Regions from separate parts of the Homo sapiens genome. Here region 2 is linked to region 1. Evidence: promoter capture Hi-C in human tissues and cell types (Jung and others, 2019). All regions are on one chromosome and are shown on one strand. Each heading gives the region's core, a stretch centred on a gene start or on the middle of the fragment in contact. The rest is flanking DNA. Distances are from core to core; before and after follow the strand shown.

The links. The method cuts DNA at HindIII sites, captures the fragments that hold promoters and counts their contacts. A contact is called where the count stands out against the background at its distance.
Region 2: a contact is called between a fragment that was not itself captured here and the fragment with the promoter of SPTB in region 1, in 2 of the 25 tissues and cell types used here (H1 embryonic stem cells and liver).

Annotation. Positions count from the first base shown.
Region 1 is chr14:64,878,474-64,881,282 of GRCh38, forward strand. SPTB (spectrin beta, erythrocytic) reads right to left here and starts at 1,434. Exons shown (of 36, transcript NM_001355436.2): 1 at 1,319-1,434. It overlaps LOC105370534 (a long non-coding RNA gene), which reads right to left. Exons shown (of 3, transcript XR_943942.3): 3 at 2,408-2,809. RefSeq lists silencers at 1,545-1,714, 1,765-1,904, 1,975-2,054. The HindIII fragment of the contact is 6,743 bases long and covers 1-2,809 here.
Region 2 is chr14:64,841,818-64,844,994 of GRCh38, forward strand. All of the region lies in intron 1 of SPTB (spectrin beta, erythrocytic), which reads right to left. Among named protein-coding and RNA genes, the nearest start is that of SPTB, 37 kb to the right of the region's middle. The HindIII fragment of the contact is 9,697 bases long and covers 1-3,177 here.

The sequences.
Region 1 (2,809 bases), core at 184-2,683:
AGAAATGACCTGCCTTGGGTTATAGTGGGGGAAGGGGTGGGCGAAGAGGGAATTCTAGAATAAAATTCAGAGCCATCTGTGAAGCTAAGGATAGGACAGTGGACAGTTGAGCTGTGCCTAAAAATCTTTGATTTGCAGACTCCTCTCATTAGGGAGCCGCCTGAATCTCTTCCCTTAGAAACTAAAATACGGATCGTGACTACCTCCAGGCAGGGGTTTTGCATGACTGCCTCCTACCTGGAGGTGACAGCCTAGTCTCTCCCCACAGAAATTCTCAGTACAAAAAGGCTGTCACTATATCCCCCCACCCCACCCCCCAATCTGATGCATCTAAAATTTAGATGTACAAAAAACAGTGGCTTCTTTTCATTTTCCTTACTCCTGGCTGGCGCCTCTAATTGCTCACTGAAAACAGTGGTTTGGATATTAATAGGCTGTAACTCAAGGCCCTACCTGAAGCTCGTTGTCAGGGAAACAGCACTCCAGCCCCGCAGCTGCTTCCCCAGCCTGGGAAGTACGGATGAGTTGGTGGGAGTTGGGGATTGTTTTACAGCTTCTGTTATTTCTCCCACTTTCTGCTATTTCTCAAGACCAAGTTAGAGGAAGAGGGGAAACTGGAGAGGAGGGTGAGGGTAGAGTAGCCCGGAGAAGCTTAGAGGAAGAGAGGAACTCTTTGGGAGAGGAAGACTAGGGGTCCTTGAAGTATGGCTTGGGGCACTAGGATCTTTCCTCCCTCGGTCTACACGGGGTCACTCTCTGGGTGGCTCCCAGCACCCGGAGGCCCGGCCCCCTCTGCTGCCCTCACCTGTCCCTCCTGCCTGGGCGCTGGGTGGCCCGAGGAGAGCGCAGCCAAGTTCCCCAGAAGAGGGATATGAGCGGCCACAAGGCTGAGAAGCCGGACAAAAAAAGGCAGAGAGCAGCGCTGCGGTCGGACGGGCTAGAGGCGCAATCCCCTTCGCTCCCAGGCCGGGGTCCTGGAGAAGGCGGACGAGAACACGCACCCCCGTCACCCTCTCCCTGCGCCCCGGGGTGACGGACTCTCCGGGATCCCGCTCTCCAAAGCTAGCACCAAGTGCCTCGGACGCCCGCGCGCGTTCCCGCGTCCCGGGATGATCTTTGCCGCAGCTGCCGGGCTTCCCGGGCCCCGCACCCCTCCCACCCCACGCCCGACAACCGGGGCTGGACTCCCACCCGGTCCTCTGGGCCCTGCGCGTCAGGCGCCCCCTGGGCCCAGCGCTCCTTTGAGCTGGCGCCGCGCGTCCCAGCCTTGCGCACCCGCACCCAGCTCCCTTGGCCGCCGGGCCCTCCTGGGACTCACCTGCCCTGGGACTGAAGCGGGGGCCACCCCGAGCCCGGGGGTGGCGGCGGCGGCGGCGCAGGGGGAGGAGGGCAGCGCGGGGCTCCTGGCACAGCGGCCGCCGGGCGCCTGGTGCTGCCGAGCCGCGGACCCGCCCAGAGATATAAATAACATTATCTGAGGAGGGACATTCCTGCCGGGGGACATCGCTGCTGCCGGGACCAGATAGTCCCGCGGCGGGGGCGGGGAGGCGGGGCCGCAGCCTCCCGCAGCGCCAAGCCCAGCCCCCGCCTTCCCCACCCACTCACGCACCTGCCAATCAGCCTCCGCGCCTGGGGGCACCTGCCGGGCCTCAGCCCGGCTCCTGGAACCCGCCTCTGCCTCCCCGCCCGCCGCTGAGCCTGGGGCGCCTCCATCGTCGTTCATTGCCCCTAACCCCGCGCCACCCCGAGCCCCCTGAGGCGGGAAGGGGGTTGGACTCTAGCTCGGGCCTAATTCGTGCGCCCGGAGAGGCAAGCCTGGTGGCGAAAATGAGCCCTCCAGCCTTTCCCGCCCTGCATCCCCACTGCACACAGTTCAGTTTTTAAAATATATGAAAAGACATTTAGGCCATAGGGTGGGCGCGGCGGGTACCCGGGAGGTGAACCCCCGCCGTGGCGGGTTTGGGAGGGACAGATTGTTCCCGGGGGCTGGTGCATTAGAAAGCGCGCTCCCGGGCGGGCTTCTCTCGGCTGGCGGTGGGAGGGCAGGGGGCGGGCACTGGGCCCGAGGGCCCCACCCCCAGCCCGAGCTCAGTGTCGCTGTTTCTGCCCGAAAACCTAGTGTAATCAGGACGAACCAGGCAAAGCTGGCGGCGCGCAGCCTGCAGTCCCAAGGAGCTCGCACATTGTAGGGACTGTAATCAACAGGCAGGCTGCCACACCTGCCCACTGGCACCTCCTGGCCGGCCCGGGTCTCCGGGCGAGTGGGGGTGCCTCACTACAAGCCTGGATGAGGCGCGGCGCAGCAGGCCAGAGGAAATACTAGAACCGATGGTGCCAAAAAGGCATCTCCGAGTTGCCCCCGGAGAGAAACTCAATAGAACACCGGCAGCTTGCAAGGCAGTACATTTTCTTGACTTTCTAACGATCAAGGTCATTGTTCAGTAAGGTTTACGTGTACGCCTTGAGGTAGCTTTCATCTCTTTTCTCCACCTGCGGTGCCTGGGATGATTTCTCACCAGCTATCAACGCAGGTAATCTCAGGTATTATGGAAATGGCCGTGGAGATTAAAAGCGCATAGATGCAGAAGAAGTTTTAACTTTTACTGATGCTGCCTGGTGTTCTTAACAAGGGAACAGTCTTACTCCTGAGTTATTTGCTTGGGATTATAATTGTGCTGTTTTCCAGAATTCACCCAGGAAAGGGGTGTTTGCCAGATGTTCGAGTTTAGTTTATATATTGAACATATGCAAAGATACTTCACTTCCTGCTGCAGTCCCACTTCTTGAGGGTGGGTATTTAGACACTGAG
Region 2 (3,177 bases), core at 640-3,139, 36 kb before region 1:
CCGCGTATGGAACCAGAAGAGGGTTTCTTGCAGAAGGTGCCCCAAGGTGTTGCAGTTTGATAACGCTCTCCTCATATCTGTTAAAGAGCGCGGCAAATGTTATCTGGAAGCAGCCGGGACAAGAGCACCCCCAGTTCTGAGCACAGTAACTGGGCTACTCAGAAGTTCCACTGAACGGCATGTCAGTGCCTTACCAATAGTCACACTGAGCTGCTTGCAAAGTAACTGCCACCACATTCCTTTCTTAAAGTGGCCTGATTCCAAAGAGCTTGCCTAGAGCAAGGGGCAGAAGAGCTGCCAAGTGCCTGCCATTTCCAGGAAGGCGCGTGTGCGGGGCCATGGTGGTGGACACATAAGCCAGCATAGGTCATTTGAAAGGTGCAGAGAAGTGAGTGGTCATTGCTAAAATAGTCTGCAAGCAACTCTAAAATGCTCGCCACATCTCGTTTCCTAGTACATGGTAGCAGTACTCCTTCGTTCAGCAAGGGCTGGAGCCAGTTTCCAGAAAGAGCCAGAGGGTAGCAGGCAGGGGATTTCATGGCAGAAATAGTAGACTAAGGTAACTTTGATCCGGGGACGTGAACCAGGCAGTAGGGGGTAGTGGTTAGGTATATCTGGAGTTAGAATGCCTGGGGATGTCTCTGGACTTAGCCACTTAGTAGCTGGGAGCCCTAGGCCATTTACTTATAGTCCGTAAGCCTCTATTTCTTCATCTGTAAGATGAAGTTAGTAATAGTCATCACCTCACAGCACTGCTGTTTGGATCAAATGAGATAATGTATTTAAAGTCCTTAATAGCGTGTCAGACACGGAGTATACAGGCTCTGAATCTGTGTGGTCTACAAACATTGCTCTAAGGTTGCTGCTGTTTCCACAGCTCAGAAGAACAAATTGTTAGCCCCTTTTGTGCCTCAGTTTCTCCAATTATAAAATAGCAACTACACCCCCCTCTACTTGTGGCACTTAAAAATGGGGACATATAGGCTGGATGCAGTGGCTCCCAACACTTTGGGAGGCTAAAGCAGGAGGACCACTTGAACCCAGGAGTTTGAGACCAGCCTGGGAAACAGAGAGACCCTGTCTCTATAAAAAATAAAAAATTAGCCAGGCATGGTGGCACACACCTATAGTCTCAGCTATTTGAGAGGCTGGGGTGGGAGGATCACTTGAGCCTGGGGCTGAGGCTGCAGTGAGCTGTGATCACACCACTGCACTCCAGCCTGGGTGACAGAATGAGACCCTGTCTCAAAAAAAAAGGGGGAGGGAAGACATATAGAAGTAGAAACTTTTTATCATCAGACATAGGCTATCCAGCGTTTACATGGGTACTGGCCATCTTGCCCTTTTTGGGCATCTGTGTAGATTCTGTAAATCCTGGATGACAGGTTTCTGATGAAAACAAATAGCCTATATTTTGTGCTTCTCAAGGCTTTTACAGGGCCAGGAGAAGACACGCAGAGGCAACCACATCTCTTCTGTGATGCCTGAGACACGTCTACAGAAGAGATGCTTGGGGCAGGATGCAGAGCAGTCACGCAGTTACTACTCAAGGTCTGTCATGTTGTTGCCCCCTCATTTCCCTCCATAAAAAGGGGAAAAGATGTTTTTATACTTCACTGGGGAAAAAAAAACCCAAACCAATGTTTGAATGTTTGCCACCATTCTTCACAACAAGCAAAGCAGTAAATTCCTTACTCTCTCATTTTCACTTGGTCACAGCCCCATCGCAGCTCCCTTGTTTCCATCACAACCCTTAGTCTCCGGTAGTAGGAAAAAAGGCATGAGTGTGACATTTTGTCAAGGGTTAGGACAGGCTTTAGTCTTGCTCTGGCGGCTGCTTTCTTTGAATAAAGGCCATCGCTGTCAAGCCAACCTGAGGACCACGACTGGGAGAGAAGAGTGGGTGTGAACAGACGGGAATGCTGCCTGCTCACCTTGGCAACACCCCTTGCCAGGCTTGGAGCATAGCAATAGTCACCGCCTGCTCTAAGCATTAGCCCATGTGCCTTGCCCTGAACCATTCTGTGCTCAATGCAGAATTTACCCATTCTCCTGACTGGACTCTCTAAGCACCATCACCACCACCAGCCTCCCATCCCAGCACAGAGCTGTGCATTAGCCTATGTTCACACAGGACCATTGTTAATTTGGGATATTTCCTTTCAGCCACCCTAATGTGTTTTATCAAATTGTTTTTAATTATAAAAGTGACATATGCCAGGTCTTTAGCAAATCCCAACAAAAAAAGGCTACAGTTGAGATCCAACAAGAGTGGACCTACCCATCCTCAAAATGGTACACCCAGGCTGGGTAGAGAATCTTCACGAAGAATGTGATGGCCATGATCTCCAAGAGTGCTTAGCAGGAGTCATGGAGAAAAAAAAAATGAGAGCTAGAAAGCCCAGCCTGTCTTTATTATTATAGTTACCCTTGACTGCCAGCAAATGCACGTCCTCAGTTGTGAATTATCCACCTATGTGTGAAGGGACCAGGTCCCAACACACAATAGGAATTTATATCCCCAACAACAGACATTTGTAGAATACCATCACCCCCAACAACGAAACAACCATGTTTAGTGAGTACTTAGAACATGTGAGGCACCATGCTAAGTGCCTGACATACATACCTCCTTTCATCATCAGTGCTCTCCTGTGAGTGATTTTCACTTCTCCATTTTATAAATGAAGAAACTGAAGCTCACAGAAGTTAAGCTACTTGCCCAAAGTCACACAACTGTGAGAAGCCTGATGCCGGTCTGACAGCAGAACTTTAGGATGAATTGTCTCTAATGATAAATTTCAGCTTTGTTAATAACAGTCCAGCAATTCACATTAACATTTAGCAGGGCTTTAATTGAAAAGTAACATGAAGAAGAGGCTATGACTTCCCAAAAACACCTACTCTTTGCAAGTCAGATTTACTATTCTCCCCAACTCCCTATCCCATTTCTACTAAAAATAGCCCAACATTTCCAAAATACATCCAAATCACATTCCAGAGATTCCACCTGATCTCAGTGTTTGGAAAGATGTCTGCCTCCCATTCCCTTTGTGATCGCAGCATGCAACTTTGGAGATGGAGAAGAAGATGATCTTCCTAAAACTTCTGAGCATTTCATATTGTTAACCTGACCAGAAATAAGACCCAGAATCTCAAGTCTTTGAGCTCTTGCTC